Linked DNA regions of Homo sapiens: regions 2, 3, 4 and 5 are each linked to region 1. Evidence: promoter capture Hi-C in 16 types of primary human blood cells and fetal thymus (Javierre and others, 2016). All regions are on one chromosome and are shown on one strand. The core of a region is centred on a gene start or on the middle of the fragment in contact, and the rest is flanking DNA. Distances in the headings are between cores, read along the strand shown.

Evidence for each region. Contacts are between HindIII fragments. The CHiCAGO score rates a contact against its expected background, and 5 or more counts as called.
Region 2: a fragment that was not itself captured here is called in contact with the fragment with the promoter of RAB35 in region 1 in 1 of 17 cell types (naive B cells); the score reaches 7.3 in naive B cells.
Region 3: the fragment with the promoter of MPHOSPH9 here is called in contact with the fragment with the promoter of RAB35 in region 1 in 1 of 17 cell types (total B cells); the score reaches 5.8 in total B cells.
Region 4: a contact is called between a fragment that was not itself captured here and the fragment with the promoter of RAB35 in region 1, in 1 of 17 cell types (monocytes). The highest score is 5.1, in monocytes.
Region 5: a fragment that was not itself captured here is called in contact with the fragment with the promoter of RAB35 in region 1 in 1 of 17 cell types (M0 macrophages); the score reaches 5.5 in M0 macrophages.

The regions. Positions count from the first base shown.
Region 1 is chr12:120,114,051-120,118,571 of GRCh38, forward strand. RAB35 (RAB35, member RAS oncogene family) reads right to left here and starts at 2,703. Exons shown (of 6, transcript NM_006861.7): 1 at 2,549-2,703. The coding sequence starts at 2,600. It overlaps RAB35-AS1 (RAB35 antisense RNA 1), which reads left to right and starts at 2,857. Exons shown (of 1, transcript NR_182302.1): 1 at 2,857-4,521. RefSeq lists enhancers at 1,894-2,686, 2,687-3,478, 4,271-4,521, 4,482-4,521 and silencers at 2,404-2,533, 2,634-2,943, 3,104-3,453, 3,544-3,603, 3,591-3,769. The HindIII fragment of the contact is 4,184 bases long and covers 494-4,521 here.
Region 2 is chr12:123,978,010-123,982,769 of GRCh38, forward strand. The region is part of intron 2 of ZNF664-RFLNA (ZNF664-RFLNA readthrough); the gene reads left to right. The region is part of intron 2 of ZNF664 (zinc finger protein 664); the gene reads left to right. Among named protein-coding and RNA genes, the nearest start is that of ZNF664-RFLNA, 7.2 kb to the left of the region's middle. The HindIII fragment of the contact is 1,601 bases long and covers 462-2,062 here.
Region 3 is chr12:123,230,204-123,235,095 of GRCh38, forward strand. MPHOSPH9 (M-phase phosphoprotein 9) reads right to left here and starts at 2,938. Exons shown (of 24, transcript NM_022782.4): 1 at 2,872-2,938; 2 at 58-319. The coding sequence starts at 161. MTRFR (mitochondrial translation release factor in rescue) reads left to right here and starts at 3,233. Exons shown (of 3, transcript NM_152269.5): 1 at 3,233-3,328. RefSeq lists an enhancer at 2,711-2,950. The HindIII fragment of the contact is 1,460 bases long and covers 1,697-3,156 here.
Region 4 is chr12:123,386,223-123,390,925 of GRCh38, forward strand. KMT5A (lysine methyltransferase 5A) reads left to right here. Exons shown (of 8, transcript NM_020382.7): 2 at 3,211-3,332; 3 at 4,408-4,564. Among named protein-coding and RNA genes, the nearest start is that of KMT5A, 4.4 kb to the left of the region's middle. RefSeq lists silencers at 2,552-2,911, 3,332-3,441. The HindIII fragment of the contact is 6,467 bases long and covers 1-4,567 here.
Region 5 is chr12:124,919,193-124,924,086 of GRCh38, forward strand. It overlaps TRA-TGC3-2 (tRNA-Ala (anticodon TGC) 3-2), which reads right to left and starts at 2,634; the gene lies at 2,563-2,634. RefSeq lists a silencer at 1-11, enhancers at 1,840-2,029, 1,865-2,543, 2,110-2,429 and a cis regulatory region at 2,085-2,255. The HindIII fragment of the contact is 6,001 bases long and covers 1-4,894 here.

The sequences.
Region 1 (4,521 bases), core at 1,453-3,952:
TGAGCTATGTGATTTGGGGCAAGTAAGTCACCTCCTCTGAGCCTCAGTTTCCTTTTTTTTAAGACGGAGTTTCATTCTTGTCGCCCAGGCTGGAGTGCAATAGTGCGATCTTGGTTCACTGCAACTTCCGCCTACCAGGTTCAAGCGATTCTCCTGCCTCAGTCTCCCAAGTAGCTGGGATTACAGGCACATTCCACCATGCCCGGCTACTTTTGTATTTTTAGTAGAGACGAGGTTTCATCATGTTGCCCAAGTTGGTCTCAAACTCCTGTCTTCAGGTGATCTGCCCGCCTTGGCCTCCCAAAGTGATGGGATTACAGGCGTGAGCCACCGCGCCCGGCCTTAAGCCTTAGTTTCCTTATTTGACAAATCACACAGGGGGCGGGTGAGAATAAGCGTCTGTGAAATCGTTCAACATATCTTAAGGAGGCATTCACACAAGGAGCCCAGTTCAGGGGAGTGTGTAATGTCAGTCTCTGGGCTCAGCTGCCAAAGCTTAGTCTGGACTTCCATGGCTACCATCTCCCAGCTTTGAGGATCTCAATGTCGGGAGAAATCAAAGAGCACAGCATCCATCTCCTCTGCACAACCTACGCCTACATGGCTGACCTAGGAGCTAGACCACATAAATCTCGACCCAATGAGTCTTCTCCCACACCTGACTTCGGAGAGAAAAATCAATTCATCACACAAAATGTACTGTGAGAAAGCGGGCCAAACCCATCCCCTGGGCTTTACAGAGGAGAAGAGCCAACAAGCTGCATCTTCCTGCTGAGTTTAGGCTTTTCACTGTTGGATATCAACGCAGAGGTCCAGATGTCTTGCAGAGGGATAAAGGCTCCTGACCACGGCGGGCTGTCACTCCAAAAAGAGAGAAATGGCCCCAGTGCCAGTCCCTCAGAACCCAGGCCAGGGCTGCAAGGAAATCATGTAAAGGAAGAAGCCTCAAGACCCTGAAGAATACCAAAGGCCATCTCCAAGAGAACACTCCAGAGCTTGCCTGGTTTCCCTTCATTCAAACCATAACCAGTCAGTACTCCACCTTTCTACCTCCTTCCCCAACCTCAGTTACTCTTCCATCTCCCTGGTTAGCCCCCAGCTTTCCCCCTTACCTCTCCCCTCCTCCAGCAACCACGGAAACCTCAGCCATCCTTCACCTGATCCAAACCACCAACCACATCTCCATCCAGCTTTAAAAGGGAGGCCAAAACCACCCACTTCCCTGACCTAGCTCTGACATCGCTACCCAACACTCCTACATCCCAAGTCATACCGCTCACTTGATTTGATCCCCTTTCCTTAACAGTCCATGGGCTCTACCACCAGCCTGGCCTCTGCCTCCAATCATAAGACATCCCTCCCCACACTCAGCTCAGGTCTGGTCTACAAACTGAGCATGCTCCCAAGACTCTTTCATGAACATCATATAACCCCAGCACCTCAGTTTCGCTCCCATAAACCTTCTGGGGCCTGCCTTCCTGACCTCTTGGTCACTCCATAAACCTGCTCACCTGCCACACTCCAAACAGCTCTAAAACCCTCCACCTTTTCCCAGAAACCAGTCTACCTTTTCGAAGGACACTTAATATTCATTAATTCCTTCTGCAAATATGTCTTAAGCATGTACTGGGTGCCAGGCACTGTTCTAGGCACTGGAGCTAGAGCAGTGATCAGAGCTAGGAGCCCTCAAGCAGTGTGTGTGTGTGGCCAAAGCACTTTTATAATTTTGGCTGTCCCATCCCCAGGACCCCTCTGTATATAGTAGTGTAACAGCAAACAGTGACAACTCACTATGTGCCAGGAGCTGTGAGCAACACTGCAGAATCTCACTTAATACTCACATCAACCCCATAAGGCAGATCCAACTATCATTCCATCTTACAGATGAGGAAACTGAACCACGCAGGGATATAATAATTCAGCAGGAATATGCCAGACCCTGTGCAAAGCCCTTTATCCGACTTACCTCATTTAAACCTCACGGCAATCCCATGAGGCAGGTTCTGAGAACGTCCTCATTTTAGATGGGAAGAAACTGACGCTTATAAAGGATACTGATGATAATGACAATAGTGAACATTTACTTCGAGCTTACTTTACCGGGTAGGGCGCTACGCACTTTTCCTACTTTATCCCATCGAATCCTCACACCACCCAGCAAGGCACATCCCCACTTCTCAGATGAGGGAACTGAGGCTCAGGACGGCGAAGCAACTTGCCCAAGGTCAGCGCGAGGCAGGTGGTAGTCCTGAGACTCGAACCCACGTCTCTCCAACTCCAGAGATCGCGCGACTTGACCAAGGTCACACGTGAGGCAGGAACAGGCGCGATGACTGGACCCGGCGCGCTTGGCCCCTCCGCCCCGCGCCCCAACCTCCCCTCGGCGCGGTCCGGAGCCCCTCGGCGCACCCCTGGGGCCCAGACCGCCGGGCTGCCCCGCCCGCCCGCCCCGCACGGGCCGGCACCTCCCCGCCCGCCTGCCGCCCCGAGGCCCCCGCGGGCCGCGCCCGGCAGGGCCCGCGCCGCCTCCGGCCGCTGCGGCCCTCACCGCTGTCGCCGATGATGAGCAGCTTGAAGAGGTGGTCGTAGTCCCGGGCCATGGCGGGCGGGGGCGGTGCGCGCGGGCGGGCGGGGTCGGTACTGGCCTCGCGATCCGCAGCTCCCTTCGGGCTGCTCCGGCAGCGGCGGATCCACTTCCCGAACAAACAGCCGGAACTGACAGAAACACCTCCCTCCGCTCCCCCTCCTCCTCCTCAGCAGCCGCCGCCGCTACCACCGCCTCCCTCCTTCCCGCCCCGCCCCACCACTGCGCAGGCGCAGCGTCTGGCACCGCCTTGCGCAGCCGCAGCCTGAGCCGGCCGCGCCCGGGTCGCGCACGCGCCCTGACGGAGTCCCAGCAAGCGCGGGCCCGTCTTCCTCGCGTCTCCTCGGGGAGCGTCGTCGCCGCCACCCTGGGCGCTGAGAGCTTGCGGAGCCGAGCCGCTGTCGAGTCCCAGCGGAAAGAAGCCCAAGGTGCCGGAGAAGCCCGGTCGTGGACGTTGTTGCTCCCTCATCTTCGAGACCCGCACGCCCTGCGGAGAGGAAATGACAGGCACGCCGCGACCGTGGGGCGGGGCTCGCACGAGCTCCGGGTTTCCAGAGGCAGGGGCCGGGGCCGTAGAAGGCAGAGTCGCGCGGGGAAGGCCCGGTACCCCGCCCCTTCCGCACCGACCCCTCCCCCGCGGAGCTGGCCCCGGCCCCGGGCCTGTGGAGTGGACGCCGAGGGCGGCGGGCGGCTTCCGAGTTGGACAGAACGGGAGCTGCCGGCGGGAGCAGAGCTGCGAGGAGGTGGCCTTTGAGGGCAGCGCGGGGTCGAAATCCCATCCCAGCGCTGTGACCTCTTGGAGCCCACATTGCCTCTTTGGTGGAGGGGAGGGAGTGGTCCAGCTCCGAGCCGAGCCTGGGAGCTGAATGACCCAGTGTGCAAGGCGCACCTCGGAGACCGAAAGCAACCGCTCCCCCGGCTTCAATTTCACACCACCTGCAGATACACGTCTCAGAATCTGCGGCTAGGAAGACCTGGGCCGCCAGAAGCTAAACGTGTGCATTTTGTCATCAGCCCCGGTTTCTCGTTTTAGAGTGAGTTCCCACCTGCCCTACCTAAACTGACCTGAAACGGAAAGTTGTATGCCCCCACGACCATCCTCACTGCAGAACTGCAGAGGGTTTTAAGCTCCTTATTACCTGTTTCTTATAATCCTGTCCCTTTCCAGGCGAGTATTTATCGGATAGTTCTACTTGTTTTATCAAACTTCCTTTTCTTTTGACTTTATAAAAAGCAATGCCGGGAGGCTGAGGCGGGAGAATCGCTTGAACCCGGGAGGCGGAGGTTGCAGTGAGCTGAGATCTCGCCATTGCACTCCATTCTGGGCAACAAGAGCGAAACTCCGTCTCAAAAAAAAAAAACAATGTTCGTCCTTAAAATTATGTGCAGAAGTTTACTGAAAAGTACAAGTTACTATTTTTCCTTCTGAAGCACTCCTCACAGGTAACCCCTGTTAGTTTCACAGGTAACCTTAAAATGCTTAACACATATTTGTTGAATGAATAAGTGCCCCCCAGTGAATTTCCTTTGCCTGTACAAACATATATGTACATACCTTGCTTTTTCTATTTAACAGTACACTTTTATCATTTAACATCTGCGTGGTATGGTACTCCATCCGATAACCATCGGATGTACTATTATTTAACCACTCCGCTATTAATAGACATTCATGCTGTTTATATTTTTTGGTTATAATAAACATTGTTGCAGGCGGGATCATTGAACAACACATGGAGTGTCTGACTCAAGCCTTGAGTTGTTTTTCCGGGAGCTGAGAATCAGTGTGGTGATATCGAAATAACATGAGCTTGGAATCTGAAGGTACTGGCTAGGGAGAAGAGCTGCTCATGTGCTCCCGATAGAAAGTCCCCCTTGGTCGGGAAGGTTAGGGCCATCCTCTGACTCAGCAGTTTTAGGAAATAGAGGGGGAGAAG
Region 2 (4,760 bases), core at 12-2,511, 3.9 Mb after region 1:
CACTTTGCAGGTGTTATGAGAGTAAGAGATAAAGGGCCAGGCACCTACAGGGCACTCAAATCTGTAAGTAGCTGCTGCTATTAGAAACAATAGAGAAAATAATAATTAAAAATTAGTGTATTAGACTACATAAAAATTTATTCTTTAGGAAGAGAAGGGAAAAAAAAAACCCGAATCATAAAGTGGAAAATATTTGTGGCAAATGATAAGCTAAGAGTTAGTATTTTCAATATGCAAAGAACTCATCCAAATTGGTGAAGAAAATAATGAAGATCCACACACAGGTGGTTATAGGATGTGAATAGACAGTTCGCTGGATAGAAATATAACTTGTGAAACATTGGAAAAGCTGTGTAATTCATTAATAATCAAATCACTAATTACCGTATAGAAAAGTTAGATTCTGTTCTGAATAGCAGCAAAACTAGAAAACATTTACAAGTAAGACATAAATGTACCAAAGCTTTATGAAGAGAAGTAAAAACTTTTACCTAAATGATTTAAAAGCTAACCTAAATAAATGGGCAGACTTGTTCCTGGAGGGGAAGGCATCATTGTAGATTGCAGTACCTCCAAATTAAACTATGATTTCAATGTAATTACAATTGAAATCCCAGTGGGAATTCTTCTGGACACTAGATAAATTGCTTCTAAAACTCTTTTATAGGAGTAAATGTCCTAGAATGGCCAAAAAATGACAAACGTTTTTAATGGAAAAGTAGTGTTGGGGGATTTGCTATATGAGAAGTCAAAGCATACTGAAATGCTGCAGTAATATAAATGGTGAACACAAGAATAGACAGATTGACGCCTGGAGCAAAGTAGAATCCAGTAACAGACCCATTTTTATATCAGAATTTAGTATATGATAAAGTTGGTGTTTTGCAACAGTTGGGAAATTATAATTCAGTGTGTTGTATAGGGATAAGTGGCTCTTTATTTAGAAAGAAAGATCCTACTTCACATTCAAAATAACTTAGATGGATTAAGGAACTAACTAAAAAAACCTATAAAAGCATTAGAAGGAAATATAAGAGAATTTGTTATGTAGAAGGATACACTGGAAATGATGTGTTTTAGGTAGGCCATTTAGGTAAGACCAAGACCTAAAATCATAAATGAAAGGATTGATAAATTTGACTATAATCACAGTTGATAATTCTGTGACAAAAAGCGTTACAGAGTGACAGACTGGGAAAACAACCTGTAGCATGTATAAAGAATAAATAGAATTAACAAATTAGGTAATGAATTGAGGATATGAATAGTTCTTAGATAAATGTGTTCAAACAGTGAAGAGAAATTCAACCTCATTGTGATTAAGAGAATGGAAATTTAAAAACTAGATTTTTTTGTTGGGAGGAGGGCATCAGGCAAAAATTAAAAACTATCCAGCGATGTAAAAGAGGCACCTAATACATTGTTGGGACATAAAATTTTTCCAAGTTTTTAGATGGCAATTTTGGCAGAATTTTATCAAAATAAAAGTACACGTTGATTTAGCAGCTACACTTCAAGGAATCTGTGCTATTTTCATAGGAGAACATACGTTAATATAAACAATGTCTATTGCAGCGTCATTTATAATGAAAAATTGAAGATAATCACAATAAATTTTGGTACCCATATACTGTGGAATATCAAGTAGCGTTTTGTTTTTTGTGGGATTTTTTGTTTGTTTTGTTTTGAGACAGGGTCTTGCTCTGTTGCCTAGGCTGGAGTGCAGTGGTACGGAATGTGGTTCAGTGTAGCCTCAGCCTCCTGGGCTCAAGTGATCTGCCTCAGCCTCTCAAGTAGCTGGGACCACACACACACACACACACCACTACACCTGGCTGATTTTTAAATTTTTTTTGTAGAGACGGAGTCTCACCACGTTACCCAGGCCAGTCTTGAACTCCTGGCCTCAAGTGATCCTCCCGCCTTGGCCTCCCAAAGTGTTGGGATTACAGGCATGAGCCACCATGTCTAGCCTATTAGTTTTTTATATAGAGAGGTAGATTTGTATGTACTGACATAGCCTGTATGGATGTCTAGAATATACTGTTGAGCCAAAAAAGCAAGCTTAATCTCATTTTTTGTAAGATACAAAACAAAATAATGAAGGGTGAGTGTGTGTATATATATATATTCTGAATAAGAATTAGAAAAAGACTAGAATACCTGAAAACATTTAATTCTGATTACTTCATGGGAAAAGCCTAGGGGAGACTGGTTTTTCATATCACATGTGTTTGCATTGCTTCAGTTTTTTTTACAATGGGCATTTACTTTTGTAAGGAAGATGTTACAATTTCTCACCAATTTCATGAAGGTCTAGATTTAGACAAAAATATACAGTGCCTAGTACCTAAAAGGATGTGGTAAAAATGACACACTCTTATGTTACATTGGCCATATGTGTCAAGAGTCTTAAAATTATTTACATTTCTTGATGGTCTAGGAACCATCAAAAGAATATTTTTAAATACAGAGAAAAGCTTTCTGCACAAAATATGTATATTGTAGAATTATATTTATGGGCACAGTTTGCAGAATGGTTATGATACATCCCCTATATCATATATTTAGTGGCAAATAACATTGCCATTAAAAACGTTTATGAAGAAAATATATTAAAATGCTTATGATAGTGTTAAGTGGAAGGAAATCAGGATACACAATTGTATACCTGATATGATGAAAACGCCCCAAAAAAAGTCCCAGCAGCCTTCCAGTAAAACCTATGAATGGCAAAAATATGTAGAAGAAATTAGATGGAAATCTTAAGAATTGTGGAATTCGGTAGGATGTCGGGTGATTTAAATAATCTTTTTTGTATTTGCCAAGATTACATGTACCTGTATTACATGTATGATGGAACATTTGATTTAACAAAGTATATCTGGGACATGATAGCTACATGGCAAATAGACATGAGCACTTTTTTTTTTGGTTAAAGCCAATGAATAAATTTGGAATTTACACTGAAAATGATTGGGACCCATTGAAAACTTGTGAGTAGGGTAAGAACAATCCATTTTGCATTTTAGAAGGTTACATTAGAGTAGATAATGGATTAGAGGGAAGCAAGACTGGAGGCTTTTGTAGAATTCCAGGGAAGATGATGGTGGCTTGAGTTAAGTTGAGACAATGCAGGTACACAGTGGAGAGTTTCCAGAGGTATTTGGAAGAGAGTGGCTAGACCTTTGTGATGGGGGGAAGTCAATGATATTGACTTGGGCAATTGAGGGGAGAGTGGACTCATTTACTATAGTTGGGAATTGGCTATGGTTTGAATATTTGTCCCCTCCAAAACTCATGTTGAAACTTAATCCCCAATGTGACAGTGTTGAGAGGTGGGGCCTTTCAGAGGTTTGGCTCATGAGGGCAGAGCCATTCATAGATTAATGGGTTGTCATGGGAGGGGACCTGGGGGCTTTATAAAAAGAAAAGAGATCTGAGACAGCATGTTAACATGCTCAGCCCCCTCTCATCGTGTGATGCCCTGTGCCGGCTCAGGGCTCTTTGGAGAGTCCCCACCAGCAGGAGAGCTGTCACCAGATGTGGTCCTGGGCTTTTTCAGCCTCCATAACTGTAAGAGATAAATTTCTTCATAAATTATCCAGTTTCAGGTATTCTCTTGTAAGCAATAGAAAACAGATTAAGACAGGAATATAGTAGGCTTTGGTGAGGAAGTGACTGATTCAGTTTTGGATGTACTTGAGTTTGAAGGTCTTATAGGACACATAGGTGTGTCACGAAGAGGATTTACAAAGAATAATTTTACAGTACACATGTTTTGCTGTAAGAATGACTAGATACTATACATAGCTATGGTATTAAAATCAATATTTCTACATGGTAAATTTTTCTTGCAATATAGTTGTACTTCTGTAAATTGGGGCATATCTGTCTAGATAGACTGGACCATTGATATTTTTCACATAGAATTATTTGAGACTGCATGACCTCGACTTCAGATAATACCATGATTGTCTTTGGGGTTCATTGGGTAGACTCTTGCCTCTCTGAGTGGGTGGTGGAGGTTCCTCTGGGCATTAGTGGTCCTTTTGTCAGTCATCCTGTTGTCAGAGTACACCTGACTTCTGGGAGTGATTTCTCTTCATCTTGGTAAACTGGTCCCTTCCACGTAGGGGCAGGCCAGGAAATAGGCAGAGTGGTGCCCTTTCATCCATGTGTGAGTGCCCACCTGGCTGTTAATAGTATGGCTGGAGCATGGGTACCTTGAAGGACAAGTGGAGAAAAGGTAGCGGAGAAAGTGCCTGCCAAGGTAACAGAAGTCATTAGAGAGGAAGGTAGATGTCTTCATCAGAGGTTGGGGCCCAGTCGCTGGGAAGTTGGTGGCAGTCAGTGTGGCTGTGCTCTTTGCCTTCATCTCCCAGGCTTCTCCTGCTCACTGTGTGTCTGCCCTATGCTTCTATGTGTGCCTGCCCTCCCCCTAATCTCTTCTCTCGCTTGGCAGTAAATAACACGTGACCCCAGGTGGTCACTCTGGAAGGCCATTCTGAAACTCTAACTTCTGCCAGCTCACATCACAGACCCAGTCTTTCCACTTCCCACTTCCCAATTCCAAATTCTCTAGAAGGACAATCTGATTGGCTTAGCTTGGGTTCCACGCTCACCGTATCGGTTTTACTGTTGCAGCGCTTACAGGAGCAGATTCATTTAGTGTGAGCCTGGTGGACTGGCTAGAAGGGAGTGCAGACGAGGACACTCAGGAGAGACGTCCTGGAAGTTAGAAAGTTTCAAGAATGGAC
Region 3 (4,892 bases), core at 1,688-4,187, 3.1 Mb after region 1:
ACGTATGCAAATAAGGTTATTCTGATTTGGTACATTTTTTTTAAATCCCATTCTTACCTATCAGTATTTAAGTTCAGTCCAAGAGAATGAAGAGAATTTTCATCAGATCCTACAGAAGATGAAGTTTTGTGTAAGGTTTTCACCAAGTCAAACTCTTCCATAGTGTACAGAAATTGTTATATTCTCTTATTGGAAAATAAAGGTTCTTGGGCTGTTTGAGAAAAATGAATCCGTGTCATCTTCAGAGGCTTCATCATCTACTGGCATTTTCAGTGGCTAACATTCAGAACTGTGAAATATCCTAAACTTCCAAGAGAGTCTGAAAATGAATGGGGGAAAAAAATACTACTATAAAAAGCCACCAAAGCTAGCAACTGTTTTTACATAACTTTGGAAACCTTAACTGCTTTCATACAGATCTCCATTAAGGATAGCAACAGTATTCATAATAATCAAAATGTAGAAACCACCCAAATGTCCATCAATGGATAAATGGATAAACGAATGAAGCATATTCATAGAACAGGATAGGATTCAGCCATAAAAAGACACATGCTACAACATACATGAACACTGAAGATACTATGCTAAGTAAAAAAAGCCAGTCACAAAAGACCACAGACTATATGATTTCATTGATATGAAATATCTTGAATGGGCAAATTCATAGACAAATGGCTGCCAGGAGCTGGGGAAGGAGAGAATGTGAGTGAGTGCAGCTGGTATGGAGTTTCTTTTTGGGGTGATAAAAAATTCTGGAATTAGATAGTGGTGATGGCTGCACAACCTTGTGAACTAAAAACCACTGAATTGTACACTTGTAAAAGACTGAATTTTATGGTATGTGAATTATGTATCTCAATTAAAAATCTACATTAAGGATTATTTGCAAAAGTAGCATCACCTTTTTCAGGTAATATTTCAGATTTTTATATGTTTAATAATCAAGGTTCTTTTTTTTAGAGACAGCATCTTGCTATGTTGCCCAGGCTGGTCTACAACTCCTGGCCTCAAGTGCTCAGCCTCCCGAGCAGCTGGGATTATAGCGCAAACCATTTTGCCAGGCTTTACAATGAAAGTTCTAGATATAATTCTATTATGTAACAATTGGAATACTTGCATGCCTTGTTCATTTGTTTAATAAATTCTACCAAGTATATATGTTTGTTGACTTATACAGAGACAAGAAGAACTGAACTACTTAATATTTAATTTGTATTAAAAAGAGCCAATTAAACTGTTAACAACCATAGCTTCCCCATTGTCTGGAAGTACATTTTGAACTATATATATGGTCTTTTGTCTCTGTGCAGCTATTCTTAGAAAATAAACCACTGGGCACACTGGAGCCTGCCTGCAGCTACTGGGAGCATGTCCCAGCTACTCTGGAGGCTGAGGTGGGAGGATCACTTCAGCCCAGGAGTTCAAGACTGCAGTGAGCTATGATCCTGCCACTGCACTCCAGCTTGGGCAACAGACCAAGACCCCATCTCTTAAAAAATAAAAATAAAAATAAAAAAATTATTTGCCAGGCCAACTAAAATTTCAGTGAAGCTGGATATATACCATGGCAAATTGGCTGTAACAGGTCAAACAAGATGCCTCCTTCCTGGGGAATTCATGCACTTATAAAAGAGCAAGGGAGCAAGAGGAAAAAGGAGAAAGAAAGAAAACTTCAGCTGCTTACAAACTGAAAAGCTTAGAGAGTGCAACAGGAATATTATCTAGTATTCCGCTTCTGCTAGATTCCCACTTTCTAGGGCCTGCTTTTATAAAGCATTACACAAAAACAGGGACCATTTCCTTCAGGGACAGGAGTGAATGCAAAGGGTAACCGGACCTAACTAAATGGACTTTTCCCCAGTGGCTCAGCCCATCACCCACGACAAATGGGGCATTGAAACAGTCAAGGACTGCCCCTTCCAACTGGCAACAGAAATACCTGGATTCCAATCACCATGCTATTACACCAGGAAAACACAAGCTCTCCAGGGAGATGAACCTGCAACCCCATCTATTATTTCCCCTGCTAAGGTAATCCGGATCCGGATGCAGATCCAGATGGAAAACCACTAGAAATTCAAAGATGCTTCTCCATTTGGGGTGGAGGTGCTGGGGGGAGGGCAGGGAAGTAAGAGGGAAAAATCCTTAAACACCCACAAATACAATGCAAAAAAAAATTTTTTTAACTTGATACAGAATGAATATAAGAGCAGAGCTTTTATATTTCCCAGCAACAAGATATGACGCTTTTGGTGTCCCTACCCCCTAGCAAAAAAAGGGAGCTGGGGAAAAGGAACGATTGATGGTTATGAAACATGAAAGTTAACTGGGCGCTCCGCCTTGACGGGAGGCTTGGGGGAGAGGAAGAGATTTCAGATGGGGATGAGGCCAGATCCCGACATTCTGAGCTCACAGTCAGCCCGCAATGGCTGGTGGCGGCTATCGGGTCAAAGTGGGAAGGAGAGGGAGAATCTATGCAGTCGCCTAAGCTACGGAAAGCAGGGAGGACGGAGAAAAGCCACCGCTCCTGCAACTACAACCGCGATTCCAAAAGGAAACCGGGGCACCTTGGCAAAAAATGGGGGGAAAAATTAAAAAAACCCCACAAACCCCCCGCCCCTCAGGAAGAGCGATCTGCGATTGGGCCGCGCGAGTGTCACTCAAGGGCGCCGAGTCTAGAAAAGGCGCACCGCGGCCGGGCAGAGCTCCCACACGCCGAAGGGCTCCGAGGGGGTCAGGCCAATCGGCAGCCGTCACCCCACACCCCAGCCCATCACCACACTCAAGGGGCCGCTAAGACAGTGTCTCCTAAGTCTCGTCTCCTGTCCCCAGCGGCCTACAGCTCCCTGCAGGCTGGTGGCCGCTTACCTGGCCGCCGCTCCCGCTGCCGATGTCAGGGTCATGCAAGCGGCCTCTCGCGACCGTTACCCGAGGGAGCGCGCGCGCGCCCGGCGTCTCTCCAGTGATTGGCTGCCCGGAAGGAGGCGGAGACAGCCTCGCATGGCGCGCGCGTCCACCTCGCCGTTCCCCCTCGCGCAGCTCCAACCAAAGAGAGACATCCAACCCCGGGGGAGTGACAAGGGGGCGGGATTGCTGTGAAACTCTCTTCTCTGATTGGCTCTCTGGGAGCCAGCCGCTGCCACGAGGGAAAGAAGCTTCAGTTTCTCGCATGCGCAGTGAGTAAACATGAGCCTCTGGTAGATAAGAGAAACCGCGATCGGAGTACGGCGCGTGCGCAGATCAGGGATCGCGATTGCGAATCCTCCGCTGAGGTGATTTGGATATCCCTAGAACGTTGAGGGCACGAGTCGGGTCCTGAGACCAGGTAAGCATCTGCGGAGAAGCCAGGTAACCCTACGGCTGCCGACGACTGTCAAAGGCTCCGGAGAGAGGACTGCGAGCCGGGACGCCTGGGTTTTTCCCGACTTGCGACCCCGAGTGGCGCAGCCAGTTTACCTGAGGCCGCGCTGGCGGTGGGGTGGGGCCGGCCGTGACACCCGAGCTCAGTTTTCTCGGGACCTGGTTTACGCTAGGTGCTGTGGGTCGGCCCTGGGGCTGTTCAGGCACTCAGGGCAGGGGAGAGGAGAGACTACCGTCCTGGAGATAACGGTTCCACGGAGGCCCAAGGCGAAACGGAAGGATCCTCATGTACAAAACTGAGCGGAATGGAGCTGTGAGCACGCATCAGGTGCTGTTTCAGGCCTGGCACGTAGTAGAGGTCAGCACTGCCCTTGCTAGGCTTTTGCGGAGATACTCGTTTTTTTTTTAATAGACGTGGGGTGGGGGGGTCTCACTGTGTTGCCCAAGCTGATCTCGAACTCCTGGCCTCAAGCGATCCTCCTTCCTCGGCCTCCCAAAGTGCTGGGATCACAGGCGCAAGCCACCCAGCCCTACTTTTGAAGGACCAAAGGGAACTCGCTCTCCTCCCCGTGGGACCCCAGCCCATTTCATGCGCACTGTGCAGGCCACATTCTTCAGCATAGTTAACCTTTAAGGTCTTTCCAGCTACTCGATTTACCTCCAGGAGTTCTGGCTCACAGTAAAGGGACTTCCCTGGCACTATCACTTAGGCCTCCACAACCCAGGAAATGGATCTGCCCTTGGAATAACAGATCTGCCAGGAGGCGTTACATCTCATTGGAGCTTCCTAAGTATACCTACCAATTTTTTTTTACTTTTTTTATTTTTGTGGGGGAGGGGGGTAGGGGGGACAAGGTCTCTCTCTGTCACCCAGGCTGGAGGGCAGTGGCGCGATCTCGGCTCACTTTAACCTCTGCCTCCCGGGTTCAAGTGATTCTTCTGCTTCAGCCTCCCGAGTAGCCGGGAATACCGGTGCCCGCCACCACATCCGGCTAATTTTTTGTATTTTTAGTAGAGACGGGGTTTTGCCATATTGGCCAGGCTGGTCTCGAATTCCTGACCTCAGGTCATCCTCCTGCCTCGGCCACCCAAAGTGCTGGGATTACAGGCATGAGCCACCACGCCTGGCAATTTTCAAAGGGTAAATTTGATGTTATCCTATCTTTCATGATTTTTTAAATTATATTACATAATTCCAAAAGATATTTTATGTTTAAACCAGGACTTACTTCATTGAAGATGGTTTTATCTTTCAGTGTGAACCTGCTGGGAAGTCAGGCTATATTTTTGGCATCACAGTGATCTCCTTAGTACCTGATTTCACAGACCAGAATTATGATCCCACCAAATAACATGTTTTCAGTAATGTCATGGCTTATCAAGTACTTCTTAAATTGGACCATACCAAGTAAAATAATTTACAAGCCACTGTTGTAGATGCCTTTTCACCCTAAGCTCTAAAACAAAGGCCGATGAAATAATCAGTTCCCAGACTGGGTTTGTGTCATAAGACAACAGTGTATGTGGTG
Region 4 (4,703 bases), core at 84-2,583, 3.3 Mb after region 1:
TTTTTTTTTTTGAGACAGAGTCTCTCTCTGTCACCCAGGCTGGAGTACAGTGGAGTGATTTCAGCCCGCTTCACCCTCCCTCTCCTGTGTTCAAGTGATTCTTGTGCCTCAGCTTCCCAAGTAGCTGGGATTACAGGCACCTGTCACCACACCCAGCTAATTTTTGTATTTTTAGTAGAGACGGGGTTTCGCCATGTTGGCCAGGCTAGTCTTGAACTCCTGACCTCAGGTTATCTGCCCACCTCGGCCTCCCAGAGTGCTGGGATTACAGGCAAAAGCCACCACGCCTGGCCAATATTTAGAATTGTAAATACCAAATCATTTACAGCACTTCAAATGAACAGTCTTTTTCTTCTAGAAAATTGGGCTTTGAACTTGCAATTCACTTTGAGAGCCCTGCTGGGTCACAGAAACAAACTGGTCAGATGCCAGGCAACACCTCACTCATTTTGAAGTTTTATAATCATGCAAATATTTACAACCCCAATATATTAGTCTCAGGGGTCAGTCCACCTACCTTTCACTATTTCTACTGCCATTGTTGAATGGTCTCTTGGTTGGTTGCCCTCCTCATTTTGCCATCTTCAGTTCATTATCCCTTAGCACCTGGTGGGGGGGTCTCCAAAAATACAGACTTTTCTTTTTTTTTGGGAGACAGAGTCTCACTCTGTCACCCAGGATAGAGTGCAGTGGCACAATCTTGGCTCACTGCAAACTCCACCCCCCTGGGTTCAAGTGACTCTCCTGCCTCAGCCTCCCAAGTAGCTGGGATTACAGGCATGCGCAACCACGCCAAGCTAATTTTTGTATTTTTAGTAGAGACGGGGTTTCGCCATGTTGGCCAGGCTGGTCTCAAACTCCTGATTTCAGGTGATTTGCCCTCCTCTGCCTCCCAAGGTGCTGGGATTACAGGTGTGAGCCACTGCGCCCAGCTGGTGTATTTGTTATATACGTATAAACTTGCGGAGAAAGGACTGTTTTGAAACTTACATTGAATGATCTGTATTTACATCTTCTAGGTACTGGAGCTGCAGAATTGAGAGGAATAGGTGCTAGACTTGTAATGTGTCCCCTGCAATTGGGGGCTCAAATGCAGAGAAAGCTATGACCATGAGTGGGGCGTGGGGTGTGGCTCGGTATACTAGAATGTGAAATGGATAAGATGATCTATGTGGGTGCTTCCTGCTCCAAAACCATGATTCTCATGGCAGTTAAGCTGCAAAACTTCTCTGCCTTGCAGAAATAGAAGACGCTTTCAAATGGCTCAACCTGGTTATCAGAGTGTCACTTTCGAATCCTCTTTCACCCTCTGGGTAATCTTTTGGATATTCAACTGTAGTAGGCTCTGCAGAGGGCATAGGCAGAGTACCTAGCCCACTGGAGTTAGTGGTTGGGCTGGAGACCCTGCCTTGAAGGATGCTAAAGCATGAGCTGATTTGGGAGGGATTGTCTGAGCAGTGACCTGTCACCACCTAATCCTACTCAGTCTTATCCGTTCCAATGGGAGTCGAGGGAGGCTAGGTGGGAGGATGGCTACAAACAGCCATTTGCTTATCTGTGGATGTTGGAAGGTGCTCTGGTGGATTATGGAATTCAAGGTTCTTGGTTTTTACCCATGAGGACACTGAGGCCCAGACTGGGGAAGTGACTTGGCGATGGTCACAAAACACCTCTGGGCAGATGCAGGGAAATAAGTCCAGCCCCTGACTCCCAGGCCATGGGCCAGGCTGCAGGAGCTGGATGCCTTGAAGTGTCTTGTTTGCATCTATGACTTTGCACAAATACAGTGAATCTGGCTGTGGGCCCTCAAGCCTTAATGGCCACAGAGTAGTGGTGCAGGGCAGTGAGCTATGCTGAAACAGCCACCAGAGTGACGGGAACCTCGTCTGCCTATGGGGGCATTTTCTCACGGCGGGATAGGAGAACAAGGTGACATGTTAAACCCTTCTGCAAGACCATTTGCTTCTCCCAAACTCCATTTCCTCATCTGTAACCAGGAAGGGTAGTGGCTGGGAGGGCAAGGCCCTGGGGTCAGTTGGCTGGGGCTGAAAACCCATCTAGTTCTGAGAACTTGGCCAAGCTCCTCACTTTCTCCATCTGTTGAAAAGAGATAATAATGGTGTCTACCTTTGCAGGGCTGCTGTGAGGTTTCAGTGAGATAACGGCAAGAGACTCGCCCAGGAAACCGATCATTATAACCCCTGGCTCTGTCTCCCCAGGGCTTCCTACCGGTCAAGTACAGCCCTTCTGGGTTTGACACCTGGCCCCATCACTTCCTAGTTCTGTGGCCCGGGACAAACCCCTGCACATCCCTTGAGTCACAGTGTCACCATTGTAAGCTGGGATGCCGACAGGACCTGCCCCCGTGGGCGTGCGGGGAGGATTCAATGCCTGTGAAACTCTCGGTGGGCACAGCGCCGGGCACACCCGAGGGCCTGGCCTGGCGCGTTCACCGCTGCTGATTTCGTCTGGCACAGACCGGGTTCCCAAAATATCCGCAGAGCCAGCGGAAAAAGGAGCCGGGCGGGCTGGCGGGAGGGCGGGCGGGAGCCTGGGCTGTCATGACGGTGTTTCCCACCCCTTCCTCCGCGAGTGGCTGAGGCCGCGCGAGAGGGGGCGCGCCCGAGCCGGGATTCGCCGCGCCCGCCCGCCCGCCCTCCGGAGCGGCCTGGCGGCGCCGCCCCTACCAGCCCCCTCCCCGGGCCGGGCGCCGGACGGTGGGCGGCTGCGAGCGGGCGGGAGGGCTGCGGAGGACGCGCCGCCTGCGCCTCCTTCCCTTCGTGCCTCGCCCCGGGCGGCCCGGGGCTGCCGCGGTGCGCGGGTGCCGGGCCCTGCCTCGCCGGCCATGGGGGAAGGGGGCGCCGTGGGGCGCCGCCGGCCCTTCCCCGGGGCGCCGCGGCGGCGCTGGTGGCGGCGGCGAGGGCGCGGGGCGCGCCGCCATGGGCCTGGCCGGGCTGCAGGTGGGTGTGTCGGGCCCGGCCGCGCGGGGGGCGGGCGGCGCGCGGGGCCTGGCCGGGCCGGGCGGCGGGAGGGCGACGCGGGCTCCGGCCCGGCCCTCCCGGCTGCGCGGGCGGCTCACCAGAGCCGGGGCCTCGAAATATGGCTGCGGCGGGAGGCGCCGTCGCGGCGCCCGGCCCGGGCGGCCCCGCTCCCCGCCCCGCCGCGCCCTGAGCGCCCCCTCCCCCGCTTCCCCCGGGTCCCCTTCTCCAGGCAGGAAGATGTCCAAGCCCCGCGCGGTGGAGGCGGCGGCGGCGGCGGCGGCGGTGGCAGCGACGGCCCCGGGCCCGGAGATGGTGGAGCGGAGGGGCCCGGGGAGGCCCCGCACCGACGGGGTAAGCAGGCACCCTCCCCGCACCCCTGCGGCGCGCCCGCCGGGCCGGGGCCGCGAGCACATGGGCGACCCCGGGTACCCGCCCGGGGCGCCCGGCCGGGCCGCTTCCTTTGCTGCCGCCTGGCTGGGAGTGGCGCCCACACGGCTCCGCCATGAGCCTGGCGGTGTTTGACCTCGGAAAAGTTTGACTGCGCCTTCGTGGCGTCTCCGCAGCCCAAGACCCTACTTCCCCGGAGGTGGCCGCGGTCCCAGGCTGTGCGGGGCCTGCGCGGGCCCCTCGGAGAGGTCACGGGTCTCACCGCCTCGGTGTTGAATGGTCCCCGAGGCGGCGAGGGCCCGGCGTTGCTTCTGGGGACGCCCTCCTCCGTCTGTACTTACTCAGAGGAGGGGCCCCACGCCCAGAGGCGCCCGCAGTGACCTGAACCGCCCCACCGCCCCGTCCACTCTCTTACTGACGCCCAGGTGCGGCTTGCGACAAAGTGGCCGCCCCGAATGCGCTGGCTGTGGCTCCTGCTCTTCCCAGATTCCCCAGTCACCCTGAGAGAAGTCCTCCCGTCGCAGCCCTGGAGGCTGCGGGGCTGCAGTGATTTGAGAGGGGTCAGGCTCCGGCGCTCATGGGGCTCTGGCTGTGCTGACAGGCCCTCCAGCCGCCCTCAGCACCAAGTGGTTAATCAGGTTCCCCGGGGCGTGTTTCTGTGCTGAGTCCCTGCGGCTCCTGCCAGGGCAGTGAACTCCTAAAGATAGCCTAGCTCTTCACATGCCCAGGTCCTTTTGACCTCCCTGTTGCGGGTAGGCTGTCTTCTTCCTATATAGACCTTGGGTTGCAGCCGACTCTCCTGCTGGCCAGCTGTCCCCTTAGTGATTTAGAGACCAGCGCGTTTAGGAAACGTTTCACTGGACCTGGGATTCTAAACCTGCCAGTGCTCTCCTGAGACAATGGGGGCTGGCATCCCCTGGTAGCCCAGTTTTTGAAAAACGGTGTTGTCTGATTTTCATCTTTTGTATTCCTCCTCCTCGTGAATGCTCTAGGATCTTCTTCTTCAAGCCTCTTTCAGAATATGCTTTTGTCTTTTTAGGAGAACGTATTTACCGGGCAGTCAAAGATCTATTCCTACATGAGCCCGAACAAATGCTCTGGAATGCGTTTCCCCCTTCAGGAAGAGAACTCAGTTACACATCACGAAGTCAAATGCCAGGGGAAACCATTAGCCGGAATCTACAGGAAACGAGAAGGTAAGCTTTTGAAATGGCCTCGTTCTGATCCCAGCTGGTCGGGTTGCAGAAGCCTCTGTCCTCTGCAAGAATGCACATATGTATTTATCCAACCTTTTCAGTCTCAGATTCGAGAGGTTTGAGCCATGTTCTGTCTTGC
Region 5 (4,894 bases), core at 751-3,250, 4.8 Mb after region 1:
TGGGAGGATCACTTGAGCCCAGGAGTTTGAGGCTGCAGTGAGCTGTGATTGCACCACAGCACTCCAGCCTGGGCAACAGAAACAGACCCTGTCTCAAGCAAAATAAATAAATAAATAAACAAAAGAAGAAACAAAGTAAAACAGAAGTGAAACTGCCTTTGCAAAAGTCATAACAGAAAATTATTACAGTGAAAGAGATCTGACCTCACTGACTCCATCTCGCGTCTAACCTCCAAACTGTCTTTGTTCATTCCTAGGTGTAGGCTGAACTGACTTTGGAGGAGCTTAGTTTATAGTTTAATTCTGAAACAAAGGTGATAGCCTTTTCCTAAAACAAGCCCCCTTCCTGCCTGCGCACTAGACTGCTTTGCAGGACTAACAAATTGGCCACAAGATTACAAATTATGGTTTAGGAGTCACGCAGCTGGAGACTGCAAGATTCTGTCCATGCTGAAATTGCTCCTGAGGATAACATCACTATTGTAAAACCTAAGACCAGTGCTTGAGATATTTTGCATACTCTGCACTCAGTGGGCCGACTGACACCACCCAGATTGATAAACTGGCTCATCTGGTCTTGTGGCCCCCACCTAGGAACTGACTCAGGGCAAAGGGACAGCTTCGACTCCCTGTGATTTCATCTCCGACCCAACCAATCAGTACTCCCGATTTCCCGACCTCCCTACACACCAAATTATCCTTCAAAACTCCAATCCCTGAGTTTTCAGGGAGACTGATTTGAGTAATAGTAAAACTCCCGTCTCCCACACTGCCAGCTGTGTGTGAATTAAACGTTCTCTATTATGGCAGGGCGAGGTGGCTTGCGCCTGTAATCCCAGCACTTCGGGAGGCTGAGGTGGGCGGATCACAGTTTCCCTGTCCTAATAAATGGGCTCTGTCTAGGCAGCGGGCAAGGAGAAACTGTTGGGCAGTTACAGAAGCATGTAAGTTTTGTGTTAGGCCTGATGACTTCAGAAATTATCTTCAATGATTTTCCCCTAAAACCTTGTTGACATTTAGGGAGAAATAACCTTTCCTGAAGCTCATTAGAAACAAGCTGTCACCAATGCGTCACCACCTAACTGGTGAGTCAGTTCGCAAGTTTCATTTTCTTCATCTCAAAAATGAAAGCTCTAGATCTAGGATTAGACGCTTTTACCATTTAAAACATGAAGTCAAGTCAAATGAAAGAAAGGGGCTGACAGGTGAGGAATTCATTATAATTGCAAAGAACTGTACCACAGAATGCAGCCGAATCCCTTCTTTCATTCTTATTATTATTTAGAGAGCTGGGAACTGGTTAAACTTTAAAAAATATAATTTATTTTTATGTATTTATTTTTGCCTAAAGATCATTCATGCAAGTAAATCAATCTCCCCTCCCCTCCCCTTCCCCTTTCCCTCCCCTTCCCCTTCCTTTCCTTTCCTTTCCTTTCCGAGCCAAGGTCTCCCTTTGTTGCCCAGGCTGCTTTCAAACTCCTGGCCTCAAGCAATTCTCCTGCCTCATGCCTCCCAAAGTGCTGGGATTACAGGCCTGAGCCACCATCTTTTGCTTTCAGTGATAAAACACAGAAACACAGTGGAGGTGAAAGCAACTCCATCTTGGTTGCTAATCCACCAAGATAACTTCCGATTAATGCCTCTTCCAGGAAGGTCTCTAAGATTTCTACTTTACTGTTACCATAAATTCTGCCCTTAGATCAGAACAACCTAGATCATAAATCCTTCCCTTATGCGGATTCACATAACATTCTTGCCTTGCTTGAGGGGTCAACTTCAATTGTCCTACATATATTCCTTCCCTATGGTATGGAAGCCCTGGGCCGGGGGTTATGGCGCAGCAAACCTTATATCCTCTGATGACCACCCTGAGACTATGGCTTCTGTTGGTAAGTCCCTAATAAATGTTTTTTCCTGAGAAACTGGGTTTGTCAACCCCTTTCTTTGGCCTCTCAGCTCCCTTGGCCTTTGGGGTAGGTTTGCATAGGCCTGCTCACCCCGGAACACAGTGTATGAATATAAATGTAAATTGCACTTGCATTACAGCCGTGGAGACGTGTTGCTGAGGAAGCAGAGAGCAAAGCCCCGCTGGGATGTGAGTTTGCTTCTGGGTTCCTCCCATGCAAATGAGGTGGTTCGTGGCAGTGCAGAGGAGGAGTGAGATGGCAAACAGGGGGGCCCAGACCTTCCAGCAACTTACACACTTGCCCTCTGATGGCCAAGAATGCGTCAACAGCCCTCGAGGCCAGTGCAGTACAATCATGGTGGCACGAGATGTGGTGTACACTCCCCAAATGATCATCCTGCTCACTTTTGCTGTGGTTTCAGTCATCAAGTCAGGTTTTGCCTTAACACTTTTCTGCTGATTACTCCCATCAGCCTCTTCTAACTCATGTGCATTTGAAACATTAGAGATTTCAGAATGGGAAGATCACACCTGGTGTGAGAATCTGAGCTCCAAGTAGTGCCTGGAATCACAATGCTTATGATAATCACATCCATGGCACTTTAATGATAAAGAACCACGGACCAAAACGAATACAGAAAGCAACAAAACTACAATGGAGATGCCGGGGATCGAACCCGGGGCCTCATACATGCAAAGCATGCGCTCTACCACTGAGCTACATCCCCCTCCCTTTCCTGTACTTGCTTTTGGAAGTCCTTGCTATACTCTATTCTTAAAGGCGTTTTTCCTGTTTCCACGTGTTTCATTTTTATTTTTGGTTTTTATTATTGTTTGGACGCATAACAATTGTGCACATTTATGAGGTGTGGTGTGATGTTGTGATCTATGTACACAATTTGTAATGTTCAAATCAGGGCAATGACCACATCCATCCCTTCAAACATGTATCATTTCTCTGTGCTGGGAGACATTAAAAATCCACGCTTCCAGCTATTTGAAAACGTACAATAAGTTGTTGTATTCACTCTATAGGGACACTGGAACTTATTCCTCCTATTCAGCTGTACTTTTGTATCCAGTAACCCCCCTTTGGCTATCCCACCTCCCCCCACCTTCACTACCTGCAGTAACCACTATTCTCTCTGTGAGACCAACTATTTCAGCTTCCGCACGTGAGTGAGATCATGCAGTATTTATCTTTCTGTGCCCGGTTTATTTCACTTTATGTAATGTCGCCCAAACTTAGCCATGTTTTTATTTTTGTTTCGTAGAGGAAAAATGACAGGATTTCATTTTGTTTTGTATTTTTTTAAGGTCGAATAGTATTCTATTGCGTATGTACACATTTTCTCTATCCATGTATCTGTTGACGGACACATCTAGGCACTTATGAATAAAGCTGCAATACACACGGGAGTGCGAGAGGCTTTTAGTTTTTGGTTGGTTGGTTTGTTTTGAGACAGAGTTTTGCTCTGTCGCCCAGGCTGGAGTGCAGTGGCATGATCTGGGCTCACTGCAACCTCCGCCTCCTGGGTTCAAGCGATTCTCCTGCCTCAGCCTCCCGAGTAGCTGGGACTACAGGCGTGCACCACCACGCCTGCTAATTTCTGTATTTTTAGTAGAGATGGGGGGGGGTTCAGCATGTTGGCCAGGCTGGTCTCGAACTCCTGACCTCAGGTGATCTGCACCCCTTGGCCTCCCAAAGTGCTGGGATTACAGGCGTGAGCCACTGCGCCCAGCCAAGGATATTTTCTAAATTAAACTTTTGTGTGTTTAAGTGAGTGTTAGAGTTTAGCAAAACCACCACAACAACAAAAAATTGTTTTATGTTTCCCAAGTAGGTTAGCTCTTCATAACCTTGCAACTAAAATTCTAGCGGATACCAGAACCAAGGAACAAATGTAAACTGACCCATTCTTAAATGTTCCTCTTCACAGACAGAAGAGAAGAGAAGGAAAATCGAGTTTCTTTCCAACAAATAAGGGCATTGGCTTGATTGTACCTTCACCCAGAAACCTCTGATTTCTCATCCTTTAAAACCATACCAACCTTCAGTGACTTTGAGGTTTGCATATCAGCTGGAAGACATTTTTTCCTCCCAAAAGAACTATTATGGCCGTGCGCCATGGCTCATGCCTGTAATCCCAGCACTTTGAGAGGTAGAGGTCGGCGGATCACTTGAGGCCAAGAGTTTGAGACCAGCCTGGCCAACATGGCGTGAACCCCGTCTCTACCAAAAATACAAAAAATTAGCCGGATGTGGTGGCGAGCGCTTGTAGTCCCAGCTACTCGGGAGGCTAAGGCGAGAGGATTTTTGGAGCCCAGGAGGCAGTGGTTGCAGTAAGCCAAGATCATCCCACAGCACGCCAGCCTGGGAGACAGAGGGAGACCACATCTAAAAAAAAAAAAAAAAAAAAAAAATCCGTCTGAATATAAATATCAGCAAACTGAAAAGAAACATATCCACTTCCCAGAATGAGGGCTTCAGCTTGGAGGAAGGAGTCTCTTTACAATTGCCCACCGAAAAGAGCCATTCTTTTTGTTTGTTTGTTTGTTTGTTTTTTTGAGACCGAGTCTCGCTTTGTCGCCCAGGCTAGAGTGCAGTGGCAGGATCTTGGCTCACTGCAGCCACCGCGTCCCGGGTTCAAACGATTCTCCTGCCTCAGGCTCCTGAGTAGCTGGGATTACAGGCGTGCACCACTACGCCCAGCTAATTTTTGTATTTTTAGTAGAGACGGGGTTTCACCATGTTGGTCAAGCTAGTCTCAAACTCCTGACCTCGTTATCCGCCCCCTGCCCCCCTCCCGCCCGCCCCAGCCTCCCAAAGTGCTGGGATTACAGGCGTGAGTCACCGTGCCCGGCCCTAAGAGCCATTCTTAAACTGTGAATTTGCATCTCTCTTCCAGAGGGTTTCTTAAGCACACCAGGGGAGAGAAGTCACAATGTCTGGTGTCCTTCAGGTCATCAAAAAGCTGTTCCTTGGGG